Regions from separate parts of the Homo sapiens genome. Here all the other regions are linked to region 2. The links are contacts of gene promoters, found by promoter capture Hi-C in human tissues and cell types (Jung and others, 2019). All regions are on one chromosome and are shown on one strand. The core of a region is centred on a gene start or on the middle of the fragment in contact, and the rest is flanking DNA. Distances in the headings are between cores, read along the strand shown. Region 1 overlaps CFAP298-TCP10L (CFAP298-TCP10L readthrough). Region 2 holds the start of HUNK (hormonally up-regulated Neu-associated kinase). Region 3 overlaps EVA1C (eva-1 homolog C).

The links. The method cuts DNA at HindIII sites, captures the fragments that hold promoters and counts their contacts. A contact is called where the count stands out against the background at its distance.
Region 1: a fragment that was not itself captured here is called in contact with the fragment with the promoter of HUNK in region 2 in 1 of the 25 tissues and cell types used here (mesenchymal stem cells).
Region 3: a contact is called between a fragment that was not itself captured here and the fragment with the promoter of HUNK in region 2, in 1 of the 25 tissues and cell types used here (thymus).

What each region holds. Positions count from the first base shown.
Region 1 is chr21:32,562,343-32,565,130 of GRCh38, reverse strand. CFAP298-TCP10L (CFAP298-TCP10L readthrough) reads left to right here. Exons shown (of 12, transcript NR_146639.2): 12 at 1-1,639. It also overlaps the pseudogene RNA5SP490. Among named protein-coding and RNA genes, the nearest start is that of TCP10L, 22 kb to the left of the region's middle. RefSeq lists an enhancer at 2,219-2,788. The HindIII fragment of the contact is 4,954 bases long and covers 1-2,788 here.
Region 2 is chr21:31,871,719-31,874,418 of GRCh38, reverse strand. HUNK (hormonally up-regulated Neu-associated kinase) reads right to left here and starts at 1,399. Exons shown (of 11, transcript NM_014586.2): 1 at 484-1,399. The coding sequence starts at 744. RefSeq lists silencers at 126-305, 1,232-1,281. The HindIII fragment of the contact is 17,092 bases long and covers 1-2,700 here.
Region 3 is chr21:32,460,182-32,462,881 of GRCh38, reverse strand. All of the region lies in intron 3 of EVA1C (eva-1 homolog C), which reads right to left. Among named protein-coding and RNA genes, the nearest start is that of EVA1C, 49 kb to the right of the region's middle. The HindIII fragment of the contact is 7,847 bases long and covers 1-2,700 here.

The sequences.
Region 1 (2,788 bases), core at 39-2,538, 690 kb before region 2:
TTTTTCTTGTCTGCACACAGAATGTATTCTAAGATCAACCACATGCTTGATCATAAAAAGTCTCAATAAATTCAAAATGATTGAAGTCATACCAAAGCACATTCTTGAATCACAGTACAATAATAGTAGAAATCAATATCAAGATTGCCTCAAACTATACAAATACATGAAATTAACTAACTTACTCTAGCATAACTCCTGGGTCAACATCAAAATTGAGGCAGAAATCAAAAAAATCGTTTGAAATTAATGAAAATAGGGACACAACTTACCAAAATCTCTGGATGCAGCCAAGGCAGTGTTAAGAGGAAAGTTTATAGCCCTAAATGTCTTCATCAAGAAGTTAAAAAAATCTCAAATTAACAATCTATCTTTGGAAAGGAAGAAACTAGGTCAACTAAGGGAAAGGAACTAGGGAGGAGAAAATCCAAAACTAGCAGAAGAAAAACCACTGAAATTAGAGAAGAACTTAATGAAATTGACATGTAAAAATCCATACAAAAGATCAATAAAACCAAGACTTGGTTTTTCAAAAAAATAAAATCGATAGGCCACTAGCCAGTTTAACAAAGAAAAAGAAAGAGAAGATCCAAGAAAGCACAATCAGAAATGAAAAAGGTGGTTTTTTTTTTTATCAGTATCATAACTGGTCCCACAGAAATACAAAAGACCTTCAGAAACTATTATGAATAACTCTAAGCACACAAATTAGAAAATCTAGAGGAAATGGATACTTTCCTGTAAGCACACGATTTTCCAAGATTGAATCAGGAAAAGACTGTTAACGTGAATAGACCAATATCAACTTCTGAAATGGAATCAGTAATGAAAAACCTACCAACCAAAAAAGCCCTGGACCAGTTGGTTTCCCAGCTGAATTCTACCAGACCGAAAGCAATCCAACACAAAACTACATGACTCAGAAAATATTGTATAAATTGTAGTTTATCGTAGAATTGTTTAAGGGCTCAAATCCCTAGAGATTCTAATTCTGTTTCCTCTAATTACCCCTCCTTCCTCACCTGCATTTACAGAGAACACACATTGGGCAAAATATGTGTCTGTCCTACTGGGAAAGTTTATCAACTCTACATCATAGAACTGAGAACAAATGCGGGGAGAGCTAATGTTTTACCAAGATGAACTTAACCAAACAAAGAGATAGAAATAAAATTCAAAGCCAAGAGCCTTACGTATAGATAAAAATGGAGGAATGAGAACATAGCATTTATCCAGGAATCATGAGTTAATCATGTTACCAGGCTTTAGGGCAAGGGGCTGGGTGAACAGTCACTATAATATTACATGCATAGTTCTTTGAAAATGTCAAGGAAAAGGCCGGGCGCAGTGGCTCACACCTGTAATCCCAGCACTTTGGGAGGCCAAGGCAGGCAGATCACGAGGTCAGGAGATCGAGACCATCCTGGCTAACATAGTGAAACCCTGTCTCTACTAAAAATACAAAAAATAAAAAATTAGCCAGGCGTGGTGGCGGGCACCTGTAGTCCCAGCTACTCAGGAGACTGAGGCAGGATAATGGCATGAACCCAGGAGGCAGAGGTTGCAGTGAGGCGAGATCACGCCACTGCACTCCAGCCTGGGTGACAGAGCGAGACTCTGTCTCAAAAAAAAAAAAAAAAAAGAAAATGTCAAGGAAAACTATTTCCCATGGATTTTTAACTGCTTGAATTCAGGGCAAAGAAAACAAGAAAACTTGAGTGTAATATTAACAAAGACCCTTAAAAAAGATGTTATATAAAAAGAAAAATCACAGTCCAGTGAAAAATACATGAAAAATTCTAAATAACATTTTAGCAAACAAAATCTAGTGATTATTAAAAGTGTAACACAAAAAAGGGAGATTTTTCCCAAGAATGTAATAGTAGTCAAACATTTTATCAAGACATTTAAAAATAAGCATAAAAATAGATGTCTGAGTGCTATTTATAAAATTCAAGATCTATTCCTCCCATCCAAATACTAACCAGGCCTGACCCTGCTTAGCTTCATGAGATCAGACAAGATCAGGCGTGTTCAGAGTGGTGCAGCCATATTCAAGAAGAACTAAAAAGTGTAATAAAATAAGAACACAAGACTATCACTGAAAAGAAGTTCACAATTTCATGCACACACATGAAAAAGTTATAGGCCAAAAGCAATATAGACATGAGAGTCTAGGGGAGGTTAACAGCATCCAGTCTGGAGTCCGAGTACTTGAGAGTTATTCTAAGTTTCTCATTTCTCTGTGATCTTGAGCAAGTTATGAAATTCTCTTTGCCTCAATTCTTTATATTGTTAAATCAAGTTTAGACTAAAGCTGCCTTTTAACGTATTTTAAGTTCAGCCTAAAGGCTTCTCTGTACATAGTGAACTTTAACCTAAATGAAGATGTAAACAGACTGAAGCCTACTTTTGTGCCAATCACCAAGTTTTGGCCAATCAAGGGCTAACTGTTCAAACTATGTTCAAATAAGGCAAATGCCTGCCGAGCTGCAACCAATTTGGTTGTTTCTGTACCTCACATCTGTTTTCTGCACGTCACTTTCCTTTTTCTGCCTGTAAGTCTTCTACCACGTGGCTGCGCTAGAGTCTCTGAGCCTACTCTGGCTCAGGAGGCTGTCTGATTCACAAATTGTTCTTTGCTAAATTAAACTCTTAAATTTAATTCAGCCAAAGTTTTTTCATTTAATAGGTGGCATCAGAAGTGAGATCCAAAGTAGATCCTCTGATGACCCCCATGAGTGCTGAGTGACTAAGCAAGGTACCCACTGGACCCACTGAGGACTAA
Region 2 (2,700 bases), core at 150-2,649:
CCACCTCCTCCGAGAGCCCAGGACGGGGATCAGACTCTAAGCTCCCCCCAGAGGCTGGCTGTTAGCTTTCCTGCCCCCCCCGCCCCCCGACATAAGAGCCCACCTCCTCTAGCCCTGGTTCCCGCCTCGCCACGGATCCGCCGCCCCTGCCGGCCTGAAGGGCAGAGGGGCCCCATCCCGCCCCCCGCGCTAGTGTCGCCAGGCGGCGCCCTTCCACGAGCAGAACGGCCGCGCGGGACGCTTCCCGGGGCAAGGCCGTCCCCTCCCAAGCCCCCAACCCCCGGGCAGCGGACCGCAGGCCGCCTTCGGGAAAGGCTGCGAGATGCTGAGCGCGCGTTTTAACCCAACAGGAAAGCCGGGCGGAGGGGGAAGGCGCTTGGCCCGGGACTGCACACTGGGACTCCCAGTGCAGTGCTCCCCGCGGGGTCCTGGCCGCCGACTCCCGCCCCTGTGCCCCAGCCCCACGGCGCCCGGGAGACTCACCTTCTCCCCGGTCAGCACGTGCAGCCCCTCGCGCACCTTGGCAAAGGAGCCCTCGCCCAGCTTCCTGCTGCCGATGAGGTAGTTGCCCACGCGCTTGTGGTGCTGGAAGTCGCGGAGCCGCTCGCGGGGCACGCCGCTCACCCAGGCAGGCAGGAAACTTCCCTCGCAGGCCGCCGCGGGCCTGGCCGCGTCCTCCGCGCCGCCGCCGCCCCCAGGCGCCGCCGGCTCCCCCAGGAGCCCGTCCCCCGCCGCCGCCGGCATCGCGCTCGCCGCGGCCCGCGCGGCTCCTGCTCGTCTCCCGCGCTCGCAGCTCCTCCTCCCCAGGCTCTTCGGCTTCCCCGGCTTCTCCCGCCGCCGCCCTGGGCCCAGCCCCGCCTGGGTCTCCGCACCCAGAGCCCGGGGCCGCCGCGATCACGCCCCCCGCGCCGCCCAGCGAGGCGCGTAGACAATAGCGGCTGCCCAGGGGACGCGGGACCGGGGACCCCGCCCCCAAAAGTTCTTCCTCTTAGGGTCGCCCGGGCCCCTTTCAGGACACCAGGATCCCGCCCCGGGTCCCGTCCAGGAAGCTAATGACAGTCGCCCTGCTCGGGCGCGCGGGGTGGGGCGCGGTCCGGCGGCGCCTGGGTCCCGGGGTCCGGGTGCCTGGGTCCGGGAGCCCGGGTGCCTCCGCAGCCTCCGCCTCGCCGCCGCCGTCTGGCCCGCACGGGCTTGGGTCGGGCTCCCGCGATCGCTCCTAGCCGTGCGCTGGGCGGCCGCTCCCGCCGGAGAGAAGCGCGCGGCGGGCTGCCGGCGCCCTCTGGAAGGCAGCAGAAGAAAGCCCCATTCAGTTTGAATTTGCAGAAATTTAATCCGCTCGCGGGCGGCGGGAACAGATGCGAGCTCCACTCCGCAGCCCGTGCACTTTCAAATCCCTAGTAGCCCCTCCTTCCCCGCGCGCCACAGTCAAACTCGACCCTCGCTGGAGAGGGGAGGGCCCGGGGAGGGGAGCGGCGGAGTGGACGGAGAAGCCACCTGAGCGCCAGACAGGGAGAACCTGCGCGGCCTCGGAGGCGCGCGCTCCCGGGCCGCCCAGGTCGGGCCGCCTCCGGCTGCGCCTCTTGCCCGGATTCTGGGCTTGGGTTTTCTGGACCTTTCGGCGGTGAAATCCCCCACTGGCCGCACCCACCCGGGGCGGGGGGAAGGGGGAAGGCTCTCGAACTCCGTGGACTGTGAGTCGGGTTGCGTGCCCGGCCCTGAGTCCGCCACACAGTAGGGCCCCCTGGACCGGGGGTGGAAGGATAGATGGATGGCTGGAAGAAAGGGTGGGGAGGCGGCCAGGCGTCTGCCCGGGCTCGCACGCAGCCTGGTTGGCTGTGTTGGAGGAGGCGCAGCCACAGCAGTAATAGTAGCAGCAGCAATGTAGGAACCAGGGCGTTTGCTGCCTCTGCTTGTAGCTTACACCTTCTTTGCCTTCCATTGAAATGATGCCTGTGATTGCAGGAGGTGGACCGGCGCTCGCCTCTCTTCGATGCTTTTGTTCTGCAAGCGCTGTGACTGTGCTCATCGCATAAACAATTGCAACTGCCCTGACGACACTGGACCCTCTCCCAGGATCCCCAACGTCTTCTCAAACCGAAAATGAAGAATCTTGTGAGGGAGAAGGAGGAGGGTAGGTAGGAGGAGGCATTTACAAAATGCTACCTGTTGAGGTGCCCGCATTTGATGGAAACTTCACCCCGATCATGCAACATCAGAGCTGAAAGGAAGGATTTGGTCCTAACAAAGTTCCTTTCATTGTTTATTCCTGAGTAAACAAGTATGACATCGACCCATAGCAATGCTTTGAGATTGGGAGTGGGGGGTGGGGGAACAACAGCTGTCATCAATCCAGTGTCTGGGGGTCTCGCTGACCCATCTGAAGAGGGACGCAGAGAAATGCCTGCTTTCAATACATCTAATTTTAAATACGCTACTATATTCATCCACCTACCTGTTACAAGTCACCAGCCTCAGTTATTATGACGGAACATACTGCGTTTTCTGTTGTTCTGTCTCATTGTTCCCGTTTACCAATATTAAAGATACAGCTTAAAATGTTTTTCTTGCTGTGCTGAAGGGACTTCTTTGCTCCCACCGGCCTTGACTATTTCAGTAACGTTCATTCAATCCTTTTAATGTCTCTAATTCAGTAATCAAATCTTAACAGGACAGTTGCATGGGAGGGGAATGGTAACTAGC
Region 3 (2,700 bases), core at 6-2,505, 590 kb before region 2:
AGCATTGTTTCTATAGATTATAGATTAACTAAAACTATTCCTTATGGGAAATAAAGGGATGGGCCGAAGCAGAGGGATGGGCTCTGGCTAGTTACCTGCAGCAGGAGCACATCCTTAAGGCACAGATCACTCATGCTACTGTTTGTGGTTTAAGAACTCCTTTAAGTGGTTTTCCACTCTGGGTGGGCCAGGTGTTCCTTGCCCTCATTCCAGTAAACCCACAACCTTCCAGCATGGGCATCATGGCCATCACGAACATGTCACAGTGTGGCAGAGATTTTCTTTATGGCCAGTTTTGGGGCCAGTTTATGGCCAGATTTTGGGGTGCCTGTTCCCAACACATCACTAGCCACCTTTCAAAGGTGGGCAGAGGAAGGATCTGCCGCGATGGGAGTATTTTATTACTGACATTGCATACAATTGCCAGTGCATAGTGATGCTGAAATGTAGATAGTCACTTTTATTTATTTTTATTATTTCTTTATTTAGTAAATAAATCTCACCCTGTCATATAGGTTGGAGTGCAGTGGTGAGCTCATAGCTCACTGTAACCTCAAACTCCTGGGCTCAAGCAATCCTCCCACTTCAGCCTCCCAAGTGGCTAGGACTGCAGGTGCCTGCCATGATGCCCTGCTAATTGTTTTTTTTTTTTTTTTTTTTAGAGATAGGGGTCTCCCTATGTTACCCAGGCTAGTCTCTAATGACTGGCCTCAAATGATTCTCCTGCCTTGGCCTCCCAAAATGCTGAAATGACAGGCATGACTATATCCTTTAGTCATTCATATCTTTAGCAGAGTGATTTGAATCAGCTTATTGAAATAATAGCTACCAACTGCTGAGCTCAACTCCATGGTCCTGTGCTAGCGTGTTACATACAACACTGTGTTTTCACAGTCTTAAAACAGCCCTATGCAGAAGAGACATAATCCCATGTTACAACTGAGTCCTAGAAAGTGTCCCTACACTGCCCAACACACAGCAGATACGATATGCAGCAGAAAGGAATATGAACCCAGAACTGCCTAAATCCAAGCCTCGCTGAAACCTACATTTCCTGAAGGGATGCAATTTGGGAGGTGAGATTTTGAGGAAGGAAGCATAGTGCACATTAGGGAAAAGAAGGTTCCGGTGAGCCTTGCTGGTAAAATAGCTTTCCGTAAAGACAAACAAATAAACCCGATCAGTGGCATTTGCCCATTTCCCTGGTGTAAATACTCCCACCGTGGCAGATGCCACAGAACACAGGCAGAGCTGGTAAGACATGTGCATAACTGGCTCTCATCATAAGAACTGGCTCTGCACACCACAGGGTGCAGCAGTGCAGCCTTTGGACAATCACAGTGTCCTGCTCAGACTGGAACTGGGAATTGAGAAGAAGAGCCTCAGGAGGTGTGAGAGATGCAGAAAAAGAGGCAGGAAGGTGTGGAGACAATCTCACTTCCACCTCCTAAATGGCAGTGCTCAGGTTTCTGGTGTTCAGGTTACACAGGGGCTCTGTCTCTCATCTGCTCTCTATGGGGCAGCCAGAGGGGCTTTATGACTTCATCACAGCACCCTCCCTGCTTAAATGCTGCCCTATAGATAGAGCCCCAACTCCTTCCTTGGCTCTGAGGACTCAGGATCCCTACTCCGGCTCCCCAGCTGGTGCTCTCTCCTGTCTTGGTGCTGTGCTCCTACCCTGTGGCTGGCTGCGCCAATGCACCTGCAACCCGCAGCCACAGGCTTCCGTATGGAGCACTCTTTCTGTGCCCTCCATCCCTGCAGTTCTCAGCTCCATCATCACTTGCTCCAAAAAGACTCCACTGAACCCCTAGTCAAGGTCAATTCCTCCTATGAGGCTGGGCACTGTGGTTCACGCCTGTGATCCTAGCACTTTGGGAGGCCAATGCGGGCAGATCACTTGAGGTCAGGAGTTCAAGACCAGCCTGGCCAACATGGTGAAACCCTGTCTCTACTAAAAATACAAAAATTAGCCAGGTGTGGTGGTGTATGCCTATAATCCCAGTTACTCAGGAGGCTGAGGCAGGAGAATCGCTTGAAACCGGGAGGCAGAGGTTGCAGTGAGCCAAGATTGAGCCACTACACTCCAGCCTGGGCAATGGAGTGAGACCCTATCCAAAAAAAAGATTCTTCTGTGAGCTGCTTGCGTAGTACCAAGTGCCTCTCCATGAAGCCCTGACCCTACCTGGAATCTTGCACATATTTGTGTGAAACTCACAGTGAATATCAGGCCCCACGGGACTGGATGATCTGGTTACCGAGGACGTGCTCACCTGTGTCTCCCCAATGCTGAGCACAGGACCTGGCCCCTGCTGGGTGAACATTTGCTCTGTGAATACATATTAAGCACCTGTTCCTCTGGGGTAACAATGCTGAACCACACAGAGTTCCTGCTCTCATCATGCTCACAGTCTGATGCAGTGTGTGTGCAAATCATACACAAGCCACAAATAAGGTAAATCTAAACGATGATGCTGCTATGAAGAAAAAATAGGATGCTGTGATAGAGAGGGGTGGCAGGATGAGAGGAAGATGTTTTTTGTTGTTGTTTTTTGGACAGAGAAAGCCTCTCTTGAAAGGTGCTGTTTGGGGTGGAAATTACACAAGGAGAAGGAACCAGCTGTGTGAAGATCTCAGGAATGCTTGCTGGGTGAAGGAAGGTTGAGAAATACCCTGGAGGGGGTGTGGACACCACCCACG